Regions from separate parts of the Homo sapiens genome. Here all the other regions are linked to region 3. Evidence: promoter capture Hi-C in 16 types of primary human blood cells and fetal thymus (Javierre and others, 2016). All regions are on one chromosome and are shown on one strand. The core of a region is centred on a gene start or on the middle of the fragment in contact, and the rest is flanking DNA. Distances in the headings are between cores, read along the strand shown.

Region 1 (2,830 bases), core at 93-2,592, 580 kb after region 3:
TACAATAAAACTTACCTTTCAAAAGTTATATATGTATTAAATAAAGAAAATTAAAATATGAAATTTGGTTAGTGAGATATCTTAATAACTAAGCTATACAATTTGATTTCAATTCCTATCACACAGTAACAGATTCTAATAATGGATTTTTAAAATGATTTATTTACTCTTTTGAATGAAGCTCCTTCATTTCCAAAAACAAAACAAAAAAAAAATTGAAATAAAAATAAAAGATCCAGCACATTAATAGTAGAGAGAAAAGTAAAGAATTTGGAATAGTGTAACTCAAGAAAAGGTAAACCACTGTGTATTAGGATTATCTAGAGGGACAGAAGTAAGAAACTTAATAGTTTACTAAGTATTAACTCACATGATCACAAGGTCCCACAATAGGCTGTGTGCAAGCTGAGGAGCAAGGAGAGCCAGTCTGGGTCCCAAAACTGAAGAACTTGCAGTCTGCTGTTCGAGAGCAGGAAGCATCCAGCATGAGAGAAAGATGTAGGCTGGGAGGCTAGGCCCATCTCGTCACTTCATGTTTTTATGCCCGCTTTATATTCACTGGTAGCTGATTAGATGGTAACCATCCAGATTAAGGGTGGGTCTGGCTTTCCCAGTCAACTGACTCAAATGTTAATCTTCTTTGGCAACACCCTCACAGACACACCCAGGATCAATACTTTGCATTCTTCAGTTCAATCAAGTTGACACTCAGTATTAACCATCATGAGTCCACCTTTCATCAACTTGAATCCATATACATTTCCTGAGATCATACATAATCTTCAAATAAAGACAATAATAAGGTTTATAATTACACCTAACATAATACAACTATCCTTCCTACAACCAGAAATGCACCAATCCCCAACCCAAATACTATTACATAAAGTTAACGATACTTAAATGCTGATGTGAAGTCAATAAATCTTATGTCACATAAGGAATGGAGGAAAAGGCATTTGCCAAGTCAGTGACTGCATACCAGGTACCAGGAGATGTGTTAATTTGCTCAAGCAATGAAACCACATCTGGTACAGCAGCTACAATTGGAGTCACCACTTGGTTAAACTTACGATAATCCACTGTCATTTTCCAAGATCCATCTGTCTTCTGCACAGGCCAAATGGGAGAGTTGAACACAGGTGTGGTGTGGAATCACCACCCCTGCGTCTTTCAAGTCCTTGATGGTGGTACTTATCTCCGCAATACCTACAGGGTTGTGATATTGTTTTTGACTTACATTTTTCTAGGTAGAGGCACCTCTAATGGCTTCCATTTGGCCTTTCCCACCATAATAATCCTCATCCTACCAGTCAGGATGCCAATGTGGGGGTTCTGCCAGCTGCTAAGTATATCTATGCCAATTATGCATTCTGGCACTGGAGAAATGACCACAGGATGAGTCTGGGGACCCAATGGACCCACTGTAAGTTGGACTTGAGCTAAAACTCCATTAATTATCTGACCTCCATAAGCCCCTACTTTAACTGGAGGACCATAATGACGTTTTAGGTCCCCTGGAATCCACATTAACTCAGAGCCAGTGTCAAGTAGTCCCCGAAGCATCTGATTATTTCCCTTTCCCCAATGCACAGTTACCTTGGTAAAAGGCCAGAGGTCTCCTTGGGGAAGGATGGGAGAAAGGTTAACAGCATAAATTGTCAGTAGTGTAGTAGGGTGCTTCCTCAAGGGGACCCAGCCTCCCATTCATTCAAGGGGTGCTGGGTCTATAAACTGGCTTAAATCTGGAAATTGACTGAGGGGCTGTGATTCTCTGCTTTTATAATTCAAATGAGTCTTTTGTCTATTTGATCTAGAAGTTTTCTGCTTATATAAATTAAGTAGGAATGCAGTAGGCTTCCTATCAATTTCACATCTAGGAGCACCGTGACTAATTAGCCAATGCCGGAGCTCCACACCAGTCAGACTATTCTGATTGCTGCTTTGCTTCTGCTGTCCAGTATGGTAGCTATGCTCACCTTGCCTGTGATGGTTGAGTGCCACCACTTGGCCCCTGCCACCTTGGGATCCAATTATTTCCATTGTATTTAAATTTTGTAGTTGAGTGACTGCAATTCCCACTGTTAGATCTGACATACAGAGAAGACCAATTACAGGGCTCTTCAAAGATGCAGGTGCTGCCCTCACAAATCTATTTCACAAGACATTGGAAAAAGGTATATCTTCTGTATCTTCCCAGATGGGGTGAATAGATCTAAAGTGACTAATCCACTCCACCATCCCAATCTCCCTAAGCATTTTGATCCCTTCCTCTACATTAAACCAAGGGAGATCAGGCATTTCTATCCCACTCAGTAGGTCATCTTTTAATCCATATTTCAGCTAACCAAGCACATAAACTATTAAAACCTTTTTTAACTCCCTGAGGTGCAACATTAAATGCAGTATCCCTACTTAGTGGGTAAAAATCAATAAATTCAGCCTGATCCAACTCTATGTTCCTTCCACCATCATCCCACACCCTTAATATCTATTCCCATGCCTTTTCTCCAGATTTCTGTTTATATAACTTAGAAAGCTCAAGCAATTCCTTTCCTCCTCTTAGGTCACACTCTTAACCTCACCTTTAGGGGCCCGCTGGGACTTTAGTCCAGTTATAGGTCTAGAAGCAAACAGGGTTGTTGTGGGTGGCTTCTGAGGAGAATCAACATTATCTTGCCAGGCACCTGCCTCAGGGGAGGCCATCACTGTTGCCTCAGGCAGCGCAGGATTTATCATCTCAGACAAAGGTGGAAAAGCTGATGGCAGCATGGATTGCGAGGGGATGTAGCCATTACTGGGGATGGGAAGCTGTTTCTTCTGGGAAAAA
Region 2 (2,700 bases), core at 191-2,690, 600 kb after region 3:
GCCACAAGGTTTAATTCACGGTAGCCTCATCATCTATAATATATGATGACATCCAGGCTCAGCTGCCAACTACTGATATTAATTACTGAGACTTGATTGGGGTTAACCACTTTTGCTTAAGGTTTCAGCATTCTCTAATTTCAGCTGTCTCTGTGATTCAGTGCTCTAAATACTTATTAGAAATGACAGGATGTGCAAAACATGAATCTAGAAGGACCCAAGGAATATCATCAGATAGGATCATCCAGTCTAGTTTATCTACATATGAGATTCTCTTAAATTTAAACTTGAAATTCTTCCTCTTATTTGTTTCCAATCTATGTCTGTGCTTATGTAAAGGCAATAGGGTTCCTTTTCCCGTATTTTTGAAACCATAATATTATTGGTTACAGGATATAACCTAATGGCTTCCTCTGCATTCTGATGCATAGCCCAGATATTATGATATCATTATTACTAAAAAGACATTATGATATTTTAATATGGTTCTTAAATGGCATCATATGATAAATGTCTTAAGTATTCACAAACAAATACGTTTTTATAGTTTGAAATTAATCAACTTGGGCTGCATTCAGAAAACAGAAAAAATAAAATAAGTGATAAATGTTATACATTACTTAATGAAAATTATCCCATTACATTAAAAAAAGATTTTAAAGTTTATTGAGTTGGTCTTTAAGAATGTATTTGCATATGTATTAAATTACACATGAAAAACTAGAAATGTTTTGATTTCATGACAAAGTAATTTTATTTACAAATAGTCTTATTAAAGAACCATTAAAGACTGTTGTAATTGAAGAATAGTTTTTCCAGTTAAAACCAAATTTTCAAAATTAATAGTAAGTTGACCCATTTCCACAGTCTCCATATCTGTCTTCTAAACATTTTTCAAAAGTCTCAAAATGACAAGAAATATTTTACTTCAGTACAATCAAGCAAATGAAACAAACTTAGAGACCATGAAGATAAACTAGACACATCTTCATAAGCACGAAACATTTTTTATGTCACAAAAAATATATTTGAGTTTTCCAAAGACAACTAAATAACACATTTGCTTCCTTTGAAAATAACATTGCTTCATTTAAAAACACTTGGGAGAGGTTGGTGTGGTGGCTCACCCCTGTAATCTCAGCACTTTGGGAGGTTGAGCCAGGAGGAATGCTTGAACTTAGGAGTTCAAGAAGAGCCTAGGGGGCACACAGTGAGTCCTCATCTCTACAAAAAAAAAAAAAAAAAATTAGCTGGGTGTAGGGACATGTGTGCCAGTAGTCTCAGCTACTTGGGAGGCTGAGGTGGGAGAATTGCTTGAGCCTGGGAAGTTGAGGCTGCAGTGAGCTGTGATTTCATCACTGCACTCCATCCTGGGCAGCAGAGTAAGACCCCGTCTCAAAAAACAAAACACACACACACACACACACACACACACACACACACACGAGAAATAATTATTTTCCTAAGACGCCAAATTCCTTAAATAGATGCCTATTCCTGTTCTCTATTGTTAAGCAAGTAGGCTTTGTGACATATTTGTTACATAAATGGAGTAAGGATTCCCCCCTTTTATGTTGCCCTAAATTGTTTACTTCTTCATAGCAAGCTGGAACCCATTTGCTCAAAACATCATGGGTGCCAAATTCAAATTTTTATGTATCCAGTTGCTTTAAATGTAGCCCGATAGATAGAATTTTAGCCATTTAGAGCCCAATGCTTTGTGGACCCCACAAAACTGCTCTCATTGTCTGCTGGCCATAGACAAGATGATTAACCCCAGAGCTATGAATGACCCCAGGCTGCTGCTGCCCTTTGGAGATCCCTGATCCAGAGATTCCCCATCTTGCTGCTGAGTGACATCATTTGCACATGAATCCCCATTGCCCATGCCCCATCTGCCCCAGGAGGACCTTCCTTCTTCTGCTTCTGAATGGGGACCTCTGGACCCTCTCATTCTATGAGGGACTTTCCCCACATGCAAACCTGTAAATGTCTGACCCAAATAAAGGTCTTTGAGGGCTAGTTCTATCTTGTGGTCATCTCTTTTTCCTTGATCAGCTGCAAAATCCTTTGACCTCCCTACAATGCTTTTAGATAAGAAAGAGACCAACAGTTAACATCATTAAATATAAATCTCAGTCCCTATAGGATCTATTTGATTGTTTCCATTTCAATTATTTTCTTTTTGTTCTCCTGGCATGTCCTAGAAGAAATAAATTTTTAGCTGGGCTCCAGAGAACTGAAAAAATATTCCATAACATATGTATTTCTTCTATGACCCTTTGATTTTTTTTCTAATTAATCTTCACTCCACAGTTTTGAAGCAAGACAAACTTTATTTTTCTCTGTATTATTCTTTCCCATTGACCTTCAATAATATCTCAGGAAATACTGTATACTTGAAAAGCAGGCAGAGGTAAAATAATTCAGAGGAGTTATTTTGTGTTTCTTACTATAGTAAAGGCATTTCATATAGAATTTCACATTTTTATTCCAAAAGGCAAGTTCAGAGCTTTTTTCTATGGTGGTAAAAACATACAATTTACTATCTTAACTATTTTTAAGTGTACAATACAGTAGTGTTAACCATATGAACAATTTTGTGCAATAGCTCTCTGGAACTTTTCATCTTGCATGACTGAAACACTATACCCATTGAACAACTCTGCTTTTATACTTCCTCTCTGCCTCTGGCAACAA
Region 3 (2,851 bases), core at 133-2,632:
TTTCAAAAATAATGTATTTTAAAGAAAAAGAAATTCTAAGTATTAAAAAAGACAGATAAAAGAAAAAGTTAATATCAAAGAGTTCCACATTCAAAATTCATTGCTTTTTTTATTTAAACACATTACATTGGCAAGCTACCTTTTTGCCCCAAAAAGGTGCCTCTTAAGTTAGCTTTAAAGCTTTCTTACTTATTTGCTACTAACATTTGTCATCAAAAAGATTACTTCAGAAATTCTACAACAAGAAATAAAACAAGTGTTGTTACATTTTTTTCAAATTATCGTCCTAGCCATATTTTAATAACATTTTCATGCTCAAATCAGAACCATATTCTTGCCAGAGATTCTGATAAATAAAAAATAATTAAGCCTCTACCTACACTAGAGAAGTTCAAACTCTTCTGCAACCTTCATTTCCAAACCATAAATTGTTTCTCTTTCATTGTTTTCCGCAGAGTAAAAGACCTGTCATATTCTTCAACGCTAACTTAATTCCCATCTCACCCTCAGAAATTTGCTTCTCCTTATGTCATGTTTTTCATCTTCCCCCCCCCCCCCCAGGATTCTTCCCCCCATATTTATCTTTTACACACACTCCAGGCAAGCCAGAGGGGCTTCTCCCTGGGTACTTTAAATTGAAGACAACAGAGGGGGCTCATCAGACCAACAGCAACAACACAAGGTTCTCCTCTGGCAACTTCACAACATTGGACGCTCCCTTCCCCCATCCGACAGCGGCACCTGCTTCCAGACACCTTGCCCACAGCAGCAGGTACTTCTCCCACTTTCACATCCTTGCCCCCGCAAAAAGGAGGGCCGAGCCCCCCTAACGCTTCGAAAAACAGAGAAATTCACCACTCTGCTCTGTCCTCACCCCCAATCTTTCAAGGGGGACAGCTGCATTGACTGGAGGATCCTCATAAACAAAACAACGCAAGGAGCCCTCCTGGCCAACCTTGCGTTTCCTAATTACCCCGGCCCTCTGCATCTCTCCACCCGGAGCGTCTCCGCGGGCGCCACCGCAGCGGGGACCCGGCTGCCGCTGCCAGGCGCCCCGCGCCCCTCTCCCGCGCAGGGCAGCGCGCGTCCTCCCGGGCACGCCGCAGTGCTCCTCGCGCTCCGCCGCCCCGGGCTTGACCCGCTGTTTCCGCAAAGGCGTCTATTCCCGTCCTCAGACCACCGTCGCCGCCCCAACCCGCGTCCCCTCCTCCTAAGTGGAGCTCCTGGCACTTACCCGGAGGCGCCCCTGCCCACAATCGCCGGGCGAGATCGTGGAGGCTCCGGGCCCAGGTGGCAGTGGCTGCTAAGGGTGCAGCGGGCGCCGAGCGGGGGCAGCTGCGTCCCAGCCGCCCGCGCCACCGCCGAGCTCGGCTGACGCGCCTGCTCGGGCCGCGGAGCCTGCGCCGTGGCGCGCCGCGGTCGGGGCCGCAGCGGGGACAGCGCGGGCCGCGGGGGAACCTGGCGACCGCGGGCGGGGGAGGGAAGAGGTGTCCCGACAGAGCAACGTCACGGCATCGTCCCCTTCAGGCATTGGAGGGGTTACCGAGCAGAAATGTGTACCCCCCTCACTCCTTAGGGGACTAAAGGAGTTGGGGACGAAGGGCGGGAATGATAGTGTCGGTACAAAAAGAAAAAACCTTTCAAGGAGCTGGGATTGCTTGGGGTCAGCTTTTGACCACTAGCAACAAACAACAGAGCAACAAATGACCTTCTTGGGTCAAAGCGAACAAAACACATTTTCTGTCATTTCACCATTTGCCTGGAACCCAGACATCCAGCTTAATCTCCGGGTCTTCCAATTTCTAAAAGCCTGAACTTTCTGAGCAAGCTTAAATTGGTCAAAATTACTGACAATATAGTCATACAGGTAATACTATGTTTAACATCTGTTACATAATTAACATGTGTACAGAACTTGACAGTTGCAAAACACCTTTCACTCGCCTTATCTCATGTGGCCCTCACCACATTCCTGGGCAAGTTTTGTCATCCCCTTCTGTAGATGAAGAATCTGAAACTCAGTTATATTAAGAGATTTACTTAGAGTTACAGATCTTGAAAGAAATTTACCAGAGATTCAAAATTAGTGATTTTTGCATATCTGAACCAGACAGGGTCTCTGCCTTATAAGAGCAAAATACTGTTGTCCTCATCCTTGTGAAGAAGTAGCCCTTACTTGGATATGCAGCCCTTAGATAACAGATAAGGCTATCCTATTACCTCTTGAATGTATGCCTGATTGATTTTTTTTAATTGTTATTTTTTAAGCAACAGGAGCTCACTTTGTTGCCCAGGCTGGAGTGCAGAGGCACAGTCATCGCTCACCGCAGTCTTGAACTTCTGGGCAATCAAGAGATCCTCTTGTCTCGGTCTCCCTAGTAGAGTAGCTGGAACAACAGACAGGCCATTGCGCTCCACTAATTATTATTATTATTTTTTAAGAGACAGCATCTCTGGCTTTGTTGTCCAGGATGGTCTCCAACTCTGGCCTGAAGCCATCCGCCTGCCTTAGCCTCCCAAGCTGGGGGGCTTACAGGCTTGAGCCACCCCACCCCACTGCACCAGGTCCTGATGGATTTTTTTTATTAAAAAAGCATTGTCTCAAGTGAGCATCACTTAGCATTGTATTGTGGACCCACAGATGTATCCACTAATAAATTTTTCCACCCGCAGCATATGGAGGGAAGGAATATTTCCTGCATATAACCGTGTTCCATAAGCTTCATGAGATATTCTGCTGCCTAAGAGTAGTGATCATTAATAAGTGATCATTACCTTATTTACATTACAAAATGATCATTATTCAAAGAGCTGTACTGTTTGAAGACCCCCCCGCCAAAGTGGATCAGGA
Region 4 (2,700 bases), core at 73-2,572, 620 kb after region 3:
GATGCACCACCACACCTGGCTAATTTTTAAAAGTTTTTTTTTTTTTTGGTAGGGATGGGATCTTGCTATGTTATTTAGGCTGGTCTTGAACTCTTGGCCATATGCAATCCTCCTGCCTTGGCCTCCCAAAGTGGTGAGATTATGGGTAATACCTACTACACTCAGTCTATTTTTTTTATTTTAAGTACATTACTGAACACTATATAAAAATAATACCAATCACATATTGCACCTAGGAATTCCTCTAAGGAGAGTAGCAAATATCTTCCCATGCATGTGTGTATGCATGCATGTTTACAAAAACATTTGAGAAAAATTTTTGAAAATCCTTAATTTCTGTTGATTTTCCTCCATAGTTTTATGAGGCTGACAGTATCTACTAAGTGGCTTACAAAATATTTTCTCTACCTATTTAATTGAATAACTGATCTAAATATTGGTTATGAAACCACTTATACAGAGCTTTATTGGACCATCTAGTATTTTTAGGTTGGTCTACATTATTAGTTCATTGAGTGAAGGAACAGTTTTAATTGTCTTTGAACTCTTAGACCTCAACAGTGGTTTGGCAAATAAGTAGGTTGTATAATTCATTCTCACACTGCTATAAAGAACTACATAAGGCTGGGTGATTTATGAAGAAAAGAAGTTTAATTGACTCACAATTCTGTAGGCTGTAAAGGAGACATGGCTGGGGAGGCCTCAGGAAACTTACAATCATGGCAGAAGCAAGGGGAAAGCAAGCACATCTTCACATTGCTGGCAGGAGAGAGAGCGAAGGGGAAAGTGCTAAACACTTTCAAACAACCAGATCTCGTGAGAACTTACTCATAAGACAGCACTAGGGGGATGGTGCTAAGCCATTAGAAACCACTTCCATGATTCAGTTACCTCCCACTAGGGCCCACCTTCAACATAGGGGATTAAAATTTTATATGAAATTTAGGTAGGGACAAAGATCTAAACTATATCATAGGTATTCAATAAACACACACTGAAGGAATGAATGAACTAATGAATGAGAAGCAGAAACTTCCCAAATTGACAAGCCATAAATGCGCAAAATATTTTAAAGACAAACAAAGTAATATGAAGCCCTAATATTTTGTTTTGTTTGCTATTTATTTCCTTTCATTCATTCCTGGCACTGGAGAGATATAACTGAACAAGAAAAATTAGACTCTTGACCTCATAAAGCTACATTTTCTGGTAGAGTCAAGCGATAAAAAACAAACATGCGGGCTGGGCGCGGTGGCTCATGCCTGTAATCCCAGCACTTTGGGAGGCCGAGACGGGCGGATCACGAGGTCAAGAGATCGAGACCATCCTGGCTAACACAGTGAAACCTCATCTCTACTAAAAATACAAAAAATTAGCCGGGCGTGGTGGTGGGCGCCTGTAGTCCCAGCTACTCGGGAGGCTGAGGCAAGAGAATGGTGTGAACCTGGGAAGGCGGAGCTTGCAGTGAGCCGAGATCGCGCCACTACACTCCAGCCTGGGTGACAAAGCGAGACTCTGTCTCAAAAAAAAAAAAAAAACAAAAAAAAAAAAACATGCAAACAAAAGAAATAAGGAAATAAAGAAAGAGGATATTAGACACTAAGGCATGCAGTGAAGAAAACAGGCCAGGGTAAAATAATAGAAAGTTACTTGGAAATAAGAAATGCAATGTTGAAAAGAAGACCAATGGAGGTATGTTTAAAAGGTGACAGTTTTCTAGGTGCCATGGGTCACACCTGTAATCCCAGCACTTTGGGAGGTCAAAGCCAGAACATTACTTGAGCCCATGAATTCAAGACCAGCATGGGCAACATAGTGAGACCCCATATCACCAAATTTTTTTTTTTTTTTTTTTGAGATGGAGTCTCGCTCTGTCACCCAGCCTGGAGTGCAGTAGCGCAATCTTGGATCACTGCAAGCTCCGCCTCCTGGATTCACACCATTCTCCTGCCTCAGCCTCCCGAGTAGCTGGGACTACAGGCACCCACCACCACGCCCGACTAATTTTTTGTATTGTTTAGTAGAGACGGGGTTTCATCATGTTAGCCAGGATGGTCTCGATCCCATATCACCAAAATTTTTAAAATTATTCAGGCATAGTGGTGTGCACCTGTGGTCCCAGCTACTCTGGAGGCTGAAGCAAGAGGATCACTTGAGCCCAGGAGTTCAAGGTTGCAGTGAGACATGATCATGCCATAGTACTCTACCCCAAAAGAGAAGGTGACAGTTGAGTTGAAGCCTGAGTGGTGAGAGGGACCCTTCATATGAAAATTAGGGTGCAGAGCTATCTGTGCAGAGAGGAGAGAATGTGCAGGGCCACTGAGGTGGCAGCCAGGTTTTAAGAAACTGTGCTTTGGCTAAAAGAGGAGAATTGAAGAAGAGTCAAATAAGATGAGATCTGTGTAGATATAATCTAGGTACAATGGGAAGTACTATAGATGGGCTATTTGTGTCCGTCCTCCCTCCCCAAATTCCTAAGTTAAATTCTTACACCCAATGTGATTGTATATGCAGGTGAGCTCCTTGGAGGTGATTAAATTATGAGGGCAGAGCCCTTATAAATGGGGTTAGTACCCTTATAAAAGGTATCACAGAGAAATATGGCTCTCCAGCCGTGTAAAGACACAGGTAAAAAACAAAAACAAAACAGCTGTTTATGAACAAGAAAGCAGGTCCTCACTAGACATCTAATCTTCAGGC

Evidence for each region. Contacts are between HindIII fragments. The CHiCAGO score rates a contact against its expected background, and 5 or more counts as called.
Region 1: a fragment that was not itself captured here is called in contact with the fragment with the promoter of GLRB in region 3 in 1 of 17 cell types (monocytes); the score reaches 5.3 in monocytes.
Region 2: a contact is called between a fragment that was not itself captured here and the fragment with the promoter of GLRB in region 3, in 1 of 17 cell types (M0 macrophages). The highest score is 5.6, in M0 macrophages.
Region 4: a fragment that was not itself captured here is called in contact with the fragment with the promoter of GLRB in region 3 in 1 of 17 cell types (M2 macrophages); the score reaches 6.0 in M2 macrophages.

The regions. Positions count from the first base shown.
Region 1 is chr4:156,489,791-156,492,620 of GRCh38, reverse strand. No RefSeq gene overlaps it. Among named protein-coding and RNA genes, the nearest start is that of LINC02272, 150 kb to the left of the region's middle. The HindIII fragment of the contact is 7,171 bases long and covers 1-2,830 here.
Region 2 is chr4:156,470,171-156,472,870 of GRCh38, reverse strand. No RefSeq gene overlaps it. Among named protein-coding and RNA genes, the nearest start is that of LINC02272, 170 kb to the left of the region's middle. The HindIII fragment of the contact is 4,295 bases long and covers 1-2,700 here.
Region 3 is chr4:157,074,681-157,077,531 of GRCh38, reverse strand. It overlaps GLRB (glycine receptor beta), which reads right to left and starts at 1,382. Exons shown (of 10, transcript NM_000824.5): 1 at 1,235-1,382. The HindIII fragment of the contact is 1,648 bases long and covers 183-1,830 here.
Region 4 is chr4:156,451,851-156,454,550 of GRCh38, reverse strand. No RefSeq gene overlaps it. Among named protein-coding and RNA genes, the nearest start is that of LINC02272, 190 kb to the left of the region's middle. The HindIII fragment of the contact is 3,147 bases long and covers 1-2,700 here.